Linked DNA regions of Homo sapiens: all the other regions are linked to region 2. Evidence: promoter capture Hi-C in 16 types of primary human blood cells and fetal thymus (Javierre and others, 2016). All regions are on one chromosome and are shown on one strand. Each heading gives the region's core, a stretch centred on a gene start or on the middle of the fragment in contact. The rest is flanking DNA. Distances are from core to core; before and after follow the strand shown. Region 1 holds the start of ZNF382 (zinc finger protein 382). Region 2 holds the start of ZNF607 (zinc finger protein 607). Region 3 holds the start of ZFP82 (ZFP82 zinc finger protein).

The links. Contacts are between HindIII fragments. The CHiCAGO score rates a contact against its expected background, and 5 or more counts as called.
Region 1: a contact is called between the fragment with the promoter of ZNF382 here and the fragment with the promoter of ZNF607 in region 2, in 4 of 17 cell types (naive B cells, non-activated CD4 T cells, activated CD4 T cells and 1 more). The highest score is 5.8, in naive B cells.
Region 3: the fragment with the promoter of ZFP82 here is called in contact with the fragment with the promoter of ZNF607 in region 2 in 1 of 17 cell types (M1 macrophages); the score reaches 5.2 in M1 macrophages.

What each region holds. Positions count from the first base shown.
Region 1 is chr19:36,603,368-36,607,181 of GRCh38, reverse strand. ZNF382 (zinc finger protein 382) reads right to left here and starts at 1,869. Exons shown (of 5, transcript NM_032825.5): 1 at 1,835-1,869. It also overlaps a transcript of ZNF529 not described here. RefSeq lists enhancers at 1,418-1,477, 2,458-2,597 and a silencer at 1,838-1,897. The HindIII fragment of the contact is 5,073 bases long and covers 1-3,498 here.
Region 2 is chr19:37,718,474-37,722,010 of GRCh38, reverse strand. It overlaps ZNF607 (zinc finger protein 607), which reads left to right and starts at 2,250. Exons shown (of 5, transcript NM_032689.5): 1 at 2,250-2,742. RefSeq lists silencers at 2,489-2,598, 2,659-2,748. The HindIII fragment of the contact is 3,190 bases long and covers 1-2,970 here.
Region 3 is chr19:36,416,832-36,420,293 of GRCh38, reverse strand. ZFP82 (ZFP82 zinc finger protein) reads left to right here and starts at 1,650. Exons shown (of 5, transcript NM_133466.4): 1 at 1,650-1,802. RefSeq lists an enhancer at 2,122-2,281. The HindIII fragment of the contact is 3,270 bases long and covers 889-3,462 here.

The DNA of each region.
Region 1 (3,814 bases), core at 620-3,119, 1.1 Mb after region 2:
GAGAATACCTTCCCAAGCCCTGATGAAGACAGTTGACAACTTTTAAATCTTTGCCTATCTGGTCTATGTTGTAGTTGAGAATAATCTTTTTTTTTTTTTTTTTTGAGACAGAGTTTCACTCTTGTTGCCCAGGCTGGAGTGCAATGGTACAATCTTGACTGACCGCAACCTCCACCTCCCGGGTTCAAGCGATTCTCCTGCCTCAGCCTCCTGAGTAGCTGGGATTACAGGCATGCACCACCATGCCCGGCTAATTTTGTATTTTTAGTAGAGATGGGGTTTCTCCATGTTGGTCAGGCTGGTCTCGAATTCTCGATCTCAGGTGATCTGCCCACCTTGGCCTCCCAAAATGCTGGGATTACAGGCATCAGTCACTGCACCAGGCCCGCAAAATAACTATTTTAATTACTACAGTGAGACTGGACTTATTAAAAATCTATCAAATACTTTTTATTATCTTAGCAAGCCTAAGGGAGTAGGAAACCTCACTCATATACAAGTGTTGAAAGTGGTAGTTATGCCAGGCACAGTGGCTCACACCTGTAATCCCAGTACTTTGGCAGGCCGAGGGGGCGGGGGGAGGGGATCACTTGAGGTCAGGAGTTCAAGACCAGCCTGGGCAACATGGTGAAACCCCATCTCTACTAAAAATACAAAAACTAGCCGAGCGTGGTGGCACAAGCCTGTAGTCCCAGCTACTCAGGAAGCTGGGGCAGGAGAATCACTTGAACTTCAGAGGTAGAGGTGGCAGTGAGCAGAGATCATGCCACTACACTCCAGCCTGGGCAAAAGAGCAAGACCTTGTCTTAAAACAAACAAAAAACAACAACAAAAGTGGTAGTTATGGTAAAAAAAAAAAAAAAAAAAAAATTTCCTGCATGTCCCCAATGGAATGCTATTCATTTCAACATACTGGTTTTAGTTAATATGGTGTTTCCAGGAAATGAATCTGGGAATTATGAAAATCATCTCTTCCCCTCTGATACTGTTATCTCTATTTTATTTGCTAAATTGCTACTTAGTTACAGTTTTGGAGGCAGGCTTAATGGCTACTATTCAGATAATCAAGTCTTACATAACCAACTAGCCATGGTCATAACAGAGTTCCTCAATCATTCAAATATTTAGGTCACTAAGGCCACAAAACCACCAGAAGTAACAGTAGGTTACAAACACATGCAGAGTCACAGTCAATCAAACATCCTTCAGAGAACCACCAACCTACAGGCCCCACTTGTCATTCACAACCTCAGACAGCAGCTAACACGACTCCAGGCAGTCACAACCACACCTACAAATCACTTGCAATTCTCCACACTCAAAGGCAGTCTCAAATGCGACTCACACCTAATCTAAAAATAGACACACGCAGAGGAAACCTCGCGCAGCAACACTACTCCGTTCACTTTTCACACACAATCGGCCACAACATCCCAAAGAGAGGCAAGCACCTAAAATGCAGCAGGTTGGGCGCAGGAGGCCACCCCTATTCAGCGCGCGCCCGCGCGCGCGAACACACAGCGCCCGCTCCGCGCGGGGACCCGCCGCCAGCGATGGCGCTTCCGCGGGATCAGAACGGGCAAAATCCCCCTTCGCGGAGCTCGCTCCGGGTCACCCTCAAGGTCACGCCCATGGACCACGCCCGAGGCCCGGCTCGTACAGATCGGAGCGTCTGGATACCGCGGTCCCGGTTTCCTCCTCAGAATTTCCAGGCCCGGCTCGGACTCTTGGTTACCTCCCTGGCCTCCCCACCCGGTTCCGCGTCCTTAGACAGCTCTCCCGGAACGGAGCTCCCAGTGCCCTCCTTGGCCTCCTCAGCACCCCTGGCACCCACCAAGCCTCACCCCCGGCCCAGGGTGAGTCGTCTGCGCCTGCGCACTCGCGCGTGGGCCTGAGCTCCCAGGAGTCTCCGGGGCGGCCCGTTAGTCGCCGCGCGGTGCTAGCTGCCGGCGCTCCCCTCCGTTTGCACCCACGGCCGCCCTATTGCGGCTGGCACTACGCTTCTGCCAGGACCCCGGCTCCCTTTTCCGTTGACCTGGTGTTCGTTTTCCATGTGGTGAGTTGAGGTGACCCGGGTCTGGATGCGAGAAGAGCTCACGGCAGGGGACCTGGGTTCATGGGACGCGGAGAGGGTTTGTGGAGGCAGAAGCCCCAGGCCTGTGTGCAAGTCACCTGCTGGGGAGGGAGACTGTGTGATTGTGTTTGTGTGTGCCGTTCTGTGGCTGCGTCCGTGTGTGGTGGTGTGAGTGGGCGCGCCTGTGATGGTCCCGGGGGGGCGGGGGGTGTGCACAGCAGGGGGTGTGTGTGCACAGCAGGTGCACAGCCCGGGACAGCCCTGACTGTCCCCGATTGGGCCCGCGGGACTGAGTGGGGGCGGGGCCGTTTGTGTGACGGCGCTGAGCGGTGACTATGAATGTGTCATGCTGTTATCAGTGATCCTGTGACAGCGCTGTTGTGACCCACTGGAGACTGTGATCAAAACTGGCCTGGTGCAGCTTTTGTAGAGTTTGATTTCTGCAGTTCTGGGGCTCAGGAATACGTGGACAAGGTCCCCGTATGGCTCGATCTGTGTCTGTGAAGACTCTGAGACCTTCTGTTCTAAAGCATGGCCCCTGTCGCTTTCATAATGCATAATACACAGTGGCATGCAGCCTCGCCAACCTCTGGGGCCAATTTTAAGTTACGTGGTTTCTTGGAGTTTGTTATACTGGGATTTCTTTCACTGCCTCAGTCATTTCACCTTATAACCACGTTGCACAGTGTGCAGTCAAATGGCTATCGAAAAGAAAGTTGGATATTTGAGATCCAGAATGAAGTTTCCAACTGAAAAAGCACAGCCTTGTGTTTCACATGGACAAGGCTGTGTTCTGATATGCACAGCCTCGTGTTTGATATGGAGATGTTAGAGCTGGAATTGCTCCCAAGGCAAGGTTCTGGGAAGATATGATATTGAGGCCCCAGGAGTAGGATTCGTTTCTCCAAAGATTTTGTGTGTGTGTGTGAGATGGAGTTTTGCTCTTGTTGCCCAGGCTGGAGTGCAGTGGCGCAATCTCGGCTCATTGCAACCTCCGCCTTCCGGGTTCAAGCAATTCTCCTGCCTCAGCCTCCCGAGTAGCTGGGATTACAGGCATGCACCACCATGCCCGGCTCATTTTTGTATTTTTAGTAGAGACGGGGTTTCACCATGTTGGTCAGACTGGTCTCGAACTCCTGACCTCAGGTGATCCACCCGCCTCGGCTTCCCAAAGTGCTGGGATTACAGGCGTGAGCCACCGTGCCTAGCCAAAAGATCCCTTTTGGAAGCTCTGTGGGGGCAAGTTGAATATTGCAGATCCACAGCATTTTCATAGCTGTCTAAAGGAAATTATTGTGAATACAGAAACATTTCAGTCCCAGGCTTTGGTGAACCTGACTTTTCTTTATGAAGGGAAGAGTCAACAATATTCCAGTCTTTCTCATACTTCCATCTGGTCATATTCAGCATGGGTTATGGAAGCTTGCCGGTGGTGAAGAATGTGTTCTTATTTAGCCTGTCTGGGCTCCAAGAAAGGCTGAGTATATTGTGATTCCCTTTCTTTCCACATTTTGCTGTATTCCAAGAGAAGAGCTCTGAGAGAAGAAAAGCATTGTAGTTGCACATTTTAAAGCAAAGCTGGAGGTCATTTTGATTTTTTTCTTTGTTTTATGAAATGCATTTTTGTTTTTCAGGATGTGGAATAACTTCATTTGAAATGCTCACCAAATAGTGACTTATCTATTTACCTGGTCTCTAGTCCTTCTCTTCCCAGTTACTGATGACATTATGAAGACAGAT
Region 2 (3,537 bases), core at 1,001-3,500:
ATCTCATTGGGGTTTTGGGGTTTTGATTTACATAGTCTTTTTCTTTGTTTCCCAGGCTGGTTTCGAACTCCTAGGCTCAAGCAATCCTCCTGCCTCGACCTCCCAAAGTGCTGAGATTACAGGCATGAGCCACTGCTCCTGGCTGATTTGCATATTCTTAATGATTAATATAGAACATGTTTTCAAGTATTTAGTAGCCATGTGTATACTTTTTTTTTTTTTTTGAGAAATGCTTATTCAGTTACTTTGCCCATTTTTGTTGGGCTTTTTATTATTGAGTTGCAAGACTTCTTTATATATTCTAGATACAAATCCCTTATTGGATACATAATTTACAAACAATTTTTCTCACTCTTTGGGTAGCTTCTCACATTCTTGGTGGGTTTTGAAGCACAATGTTTTACAATTTATGTCCAATTTCCTTTTTTGATGTTGTTGCTTGTGATTCTGATGTCACGGTTAAGAAACAATTGCTGACTATAAAGTCCAGAAGATTTATGCCTACATTTCCTTCTAAATGTTCTACTGTTTTAAGTCTTACACCTAGGTGTTTGATCCATTTTGAGTTGATTTTGTATATGGTGAGAGGCAGGGAACTCAATTCATTCCTTTCTATGTGCATCTCTAATTCCAGTCTTTTCAACAAAGACTACTCTTCCCTTCCTTAAAATGCCTTGGTATCCTTGTTGAAAATAGTATGTGGAGCCGGGCGCAGTAGCTCATGCCTATAATCCCAGCACTTTGGGAGGCCAAGGCGGGCAGATCATCTGAGGTTGGGAGTTCGAGACCAGCCTGACCAACATGGTAAAACCCTGTCTCTACTAAAAATACAAAATTAGCTGGGCATGGTGATGCATGCCTGTAATTCCAGCTACTCAGGAGGCTGAGGCAGGAAAATCGCTTGAACCTGGGAGGTGGAGGTTGCAGTGAGCCAAGATCGTGCCATTGCACTCCAGCCTGGGCAACTAGAGCAAAACTCCGTCTCAAAAAGAGAAAAAAGAAAAAGAAAATAATATGTGGAGTCAATTTAATCCATTGATCTATGTGTGGTATTTCTGAGAGATTATTCAGGAGATTCAGGAGCAACAAATCCAAGAACTAATTAAGAGAAGAAAAAGTGATCAATAAGTTCTTAAATTGTAACTTTAATAGTTTTTTTTCCTTGACTATTTGTATTTTTGAATGGTGATTTTTTAGTTTTGTTCCTTTTCCTCTTAGGGTATAGACAAATATTTTTTATTTTTAAATTAATTTTACTTATTTATTTTTTGAGACAAGGTCTTGCTCTGTTGCTCAGGCCAGAGTGCGGTGACACCATCATACCTCACTGAAGCCTGAACTTCCGGGCTCAACTGATCCTCCTACCTTTGTCTTTGGAATAGCTGGGCCCACAGGCGTGTGCCACCACACCAGGCTAACTTTCATTTTTGGTAGAGTTTGGGAGGAGGAGAGGGGTGTCTCACTATGTTTCTTAGGCTGGTTTTGAACTTCTGGCCTCAACTGATCCTCCTGCCTTGGCCTCCGAAAATGCTGGGATTAAAGGCGTGAGCCACCGTGCCCAGCCTGTATTCATCAATATTTTATTAAGCCAAAGAAACAGGAAATTCGGACTATTAAATATTTGTCCGTTTTAGCTGTTGTAAATATTTCCCCCAAATTTACTTACCTAAAAATTTTTCTTATTCGTTTTTTACCATTTGGAAATTTTGGATGCTTCTAAATAACTATGAAGATTTACAAAGTATTACATGAAGGATCAAAAAAATTTTTTAAATTTCTTATTTTATCTTCAAGAAGCCTATTCCAGAACAAAAATAATAAAACTATTTAGCAGTTATTTCTTCAGATGATTTTTTAGTCAAATTTTTAGTCAAATATATTCGTGTCCAAAGATGAAGAACATAATGTCATGTATTGAAGAATGTGATGGAACTTCAAACCCTCATATAGGACGTGAGTCCATTTACTTAGCGCTTGACGAGACAAGCTGGGCCTGTCGGGTGGTATTAAAAGTCCCAGTCCCATGTGTTACCAAGGAGGCCGGCTCTACCTCAGGAGCCATGAGGGTTTCGGCGCCCCACCCTGAGGAGCTCACACCCATCCAGCAGGTGATCCCTTCCGAGGCTACCTGGATCAGTTTCTACTCAGACTCGCCTCCTACTGGCCCTAAGAACGCACTAACTCCACCCTAAGCCTCAGGCCAGGGGCCCAGTAGTGGCCGATCTGCGCATGCGCACTCGAGGCAAGGCGGCCACTCCCAGAAGTCTCCGGGGCTCGAGCGGTGGGTGGGAGGCGCGGTCCAAGTGGTCGCTGCCGTATTTCTCGTAGGTTTTTAGGATTCTGGACTCCATTTCTCACCGGTACCTGCGGTCCTGACTGTTCTGGCTTGGACTACATATTACAAAGGCAACGGAGAAAACTTGGACCCCTGGCTCCGGTTCCGGGACCTTTTGGTTCCACCTGAAGAAGGCGGCGCAGGTCACTGCGGGAGCCTCTGCAGCCCCAGCCCGCCGCCCGCGTGGTACCCTGCGTGGCGGTGAGAGTGGGGCTGCAGGAGGCGCTCAGAGCGCGGAGGCCCCCAGGCGGGCCGGGCGAGTCTCCCGCCTCCTCAGGCCCTAGGGTGCTGGAGCTGCGGAGGAGGGGCCCGTCTCTAGGAGACAGGCGGGGAGCGTGAGAGACCGCGCAGCGGCGACAGGACCGGCTTGCCTGTGTGACGTGGGTGCAGTTGCGGGACTGTGAGGGGTGCGTAGTCGACCTTGTGTGACCTGTACATGCCGTGTGTGTCCTTTGTAAAGCGTGCTTCGCTGGGCTCTGTGGGGTCTATTGACCCTTGGCTCCAGGTTCCCTGCTGCTTCCTGTGCCTTCCTCAGCCTAGTACGACTACAACAGAGAAATGGTCCCAATGGGAAATCAGATACTGAGTCTTAGATGAAGATTTCCAGTGAGAAGAAACAGATAGGATGAGAAGCTTAGAAGAGTAATTGCCCTTAAGAAAGGTATGATAGATTCTGTTAAATAAAAAAGTATTCAGTGACACTTGTTAAAGCATGCAAAGAACCCTTTATTCAGGACCATGGTGGTAGGTATTGGGATCCCGGCTGTGAGATTTTGCAGTGGGTAACAGACATTGGGCTCAACTCCGAATTCAGCATGAACAAGTGGGAATTTATAGCCAAGAAGGTTAGGGATCACTGGATGAGAAATTACTAAGAGGAAATGTCTGGGTTAAGGAAGATTCTGACTAAACGCACCTAACAGGATTATTTCTGGAGAGAGAGACCTGGGGGACGGTGGAGGATGAAGATACGGAGGCGAAAGGGTCTTGCTAAACTGACTTAGAATAGTTCTTTGCTATAGCCAGATTTTACAGTGAAGTGTACAGATGGGCCTAGCTGAAGGTGTAGTAGCCTGACTAAAATTTGGTCTGGCAGGGTTTGTCAGTTTCGAGTGTAGGATTCCCTCCTGAAAAGGGTTGTTACTCCGCCCCCACCTCCCGGTTCTTGGAGTTTCATTTACATGTTTAACAAACACGGCCTT
Region 3 (3,462 bases), core at 401-2,900, 1.3 Mb after region 2:
ATAACTAAGAGGGACATATAAAAACAGGGATTGGCAAACTTTTTCTTTAAAGGGCCTGATAGTAAATACAGTCAATCTTCATTCACAGATTCTGAATTTGTGAATTCATCTACTTGCTAAAACTTTTTTATAAACCCAGAGTCAATATTTGCAGCACCTTTGTGGTCATTTGTGGACATCCGAAGAGCGGTGAACCTTTTTGAGTCCCTTAACAGGCATGTTCTCAGCCAAAGTCAAACAAAGTGACCCTCTATCTTCTTATTTCAGCTCTCATACTGTAAACAGGTACCCTTTTTGCAGTCCATTTAGTACCTTGGCTTCTCATATTTTTGTTTTTTGCTGGTGATTTTGCTGTTTCAAAGGGACCCCAAATGTAGTAGTACTAAAGTGCTGTTGATGTTCCTATGAATGAGAAAGCGGTCATGTGTCTTACAGAAAAAATACATGTGTTAGATAAGCTTCATTCAGGCATGAGTTATGGAGCTGTTGGCCATGAGTTCAATGTTAATGAATCAATAATATATATTAAAGTGTTTAAATAGAAACACAATAAGGCCAGGCGCGGTGGCTCATGCCTATAATCCCAGCACTTTTGGGAGGCCAAGGCGGGTGGATCACCTGAGGTCAGGAGTTTGAGACCAGCCTGGTCAACATGGTGAAACTCCGTTTCTACAAAATACAAAAATCAGCTGGGCATGGTGACATGCATCTGTATTCCCAGCTACTCTGGGGGCTGAGGCAGGAGAATTGCTGGAACCCGGGAGGCGGAGGAGGTTGCAGTGAGCCAAGATCCCACCACTGCACTCCAGCCTGGGTGACAGAGCAAGACCCTATCTCAAAAAAAAAAAAAAAAAAGAAAAAAAGAAAATAAACACAATAAAATAAGCTTATGCATTCATCGGTTGACTAAAATGTGACCAGATGCTTACAGGAAACTAACCCTGTATTTCCCCTAGAAGCAGTGGAATGGTATTCACTAATTCCGTGTTTGTAGCAAGTTTATAGACCATAACTACTGTGAATAGTGAGAACTGACTGTATTTTAGGCTGCGTGGGCCATCTGGTCTGTGTAACTACTCGAGTCTGTCCTTGTAGCTCAAATATAGCAATAGACAGTACACAATCAAACACGGCTATGTTCCAATAAAACTTTTATTTATGGACACTGAAATTTGACATGTATGATTTTCATATTTCACAAAATATTGTTCTCCTTTTCATTGTTTTTACCATTTAAAAATACAGAAATGGAAAATATAGGAACTGGCTTCCCCGAATCTCCGGAGTCACACGGTCTCAAATCCCAACAGCCACACCCAGTGAAAGAATCCCACCCAGGAGCGCGCCAGGGACAGACTCGCAGCGCCGTCCTCGCTCACAGGGCTCCCTAGTTGGCACTATAGAGAGGCGGTCGCGGGCGCCCCTCTTTAACGCGCCAGCCATCTGTCCCCGCTCCCCTCCAGGCCCTGCCGCGCCGTCCCCAGGCGCTAAGGGACTCGAAGCGCAGCCTCGCTGGGACGGACCTAGCTCCGGCTCCGGGTTCACGCAGAGCAGGGGCTGCACCAGCGAGCGGACCCTTGAGACTGGCCGCGCCTGCGCACTCCGTGAGCGCGCCCGGCCCTCCCAGCAGCCTCCGCGCGCAGCCCGTTAGGCCCCGGGGATTGTGGCGTGACCCGGCAGCGGCTTCCTCCGTTCGGGCATCGCTGTGCCTCGGGTTCGCGCCCCGAGTGAGCAGTCCTGGCCCGGAGCGTCGGTCCTGGTAATCTGTAGGAAAAGCGCTGCGGCCCAGGGGGTAAAGAGAGGTAAGCGGGGCCACTGCAGTATCGCAGAGGGGCGGGAGCCCGCGCCTCAGGCCCGGGTGTGTGTGTCGTGGGCGTGACGGGGCCGGGGCTGGGACGTGACGGAGTCTGTGCGGCTGACTTGGGTGCAGAGACTATTGTATGAGCGAAGGTTGTTGTGGCCGTGGAGTGCGTGACTGACCCCAGCATCCTCTGCCCACACCGGGCCCAGCTGCAGAGAAATGGCCCTCGGTCAGTTTCTGCACGCCAAAGACTCCCAGCAGAAACGCGCAGACTAGGCCGGACCAGGTGGCTCACATCTGTAATCCCAGAGCTCTGGGAGAGCGAGGCGGGAGGATCGCTGGAAGCCAGGAGTTCGAGACCAGCCTGGGCAGCAAAGCGAAACTCCCATCTGTACCAGAAATTTAAAAAATGAGCCGGGTGTGATGGCGTGCTCCTGTGGTCCCAGCCACTCGAGAGGCTGAGGCGGGAGGATGGCTTGAGCCTAGGAGGAGATTGAGGCTGCAGCGAGCTATGATAGCACCACTACTCTCCAGCCTGGGCAACAGCGAAACAAGGCTCAGACCCGACCTTGGGATAGGAATATTAGAACTGAACGAGCCCCCGCTCCCGCCCAGGCTTGCTCCTGGAAGGGACTCCCACACCACCTCCTCGCGGACCCGGACCCACGCACGTGCACTCACAACTCTGAAGAGTCCAGCTGCAGGTTTCAGAACCACAGCATTGCTTCCAGGAAGCTATTGTGAACTCCAGTTCTAGCCCCGGGCATCCATGACCCTGGCCTTTCTTTGATACTGGGAAGAGTTAACAACACCATCTCTCTTATGTTACTCTGGTTATGTGTGGGTGGGCGGTGGGGGCATTGTGCCCTATGCGAGGCTGGGCTGCAAGAAAAGCCTGGTTCCCTTATTAGCCAGTCCTGCCCAATTCTTTAAGAAAAGGGGTCCGAGCGGGAGGAGGAATGAATTGCTGTTGCCTGTTTAAGTCAAGGTCGAGGCGAGTGGGTGTTTCTGCTTTCTTCTGTGAAATGCATTCTTATTTCTTAGGACATGAGAATATTTGTTTCATTCTCCATAAATGTCCTGTCCATTGAGCTGATACCTAGGTCCCCTCCCGAGAGCCTGTATGCACATACCCATTTGGTAGATGTTTTTCATTACTTCTGTGGGCCTTCTTTTAATTACTATGTGTAAAGTTCTTAGAACAGTTCCTGAGACCTCGTTAGTACTTAATAAACCTTAGTTATGTATTCTTAAGTAGTGATTTGGAGCAATTCTACATCAGCCTTCTATAGATGGGGGGAAAATGAAAATACTAAGCCAATTGTGGTGAGTATTTCCTAGTAAAAAATAAATGAGCCAGATCAGATGCTTAAATAGTCTAAAACAGGAATTCTTTTTTTTTTTTTTTTTTTTTTTTTTTGAGACAGGGTCTTGCTCTGTCACCCAGGTTGGAGTGCAGTGGCACAATCTCAGCTCACTGCAACCTCCCTTTCCGTGGTTCAAGCGATTCTTATACCTCAGCCTCCCAAGTAGCTGGGATTACAGGCCTGCACCACCACACCCAGCTAATTTTTGTATTTTTAGTACAGACCGGGTTTTACCATGTTGGCCAGGCTGGTCTCAAACTCCTGGCCTCAAGTGATCTGCCTGCCTCGGCCTCC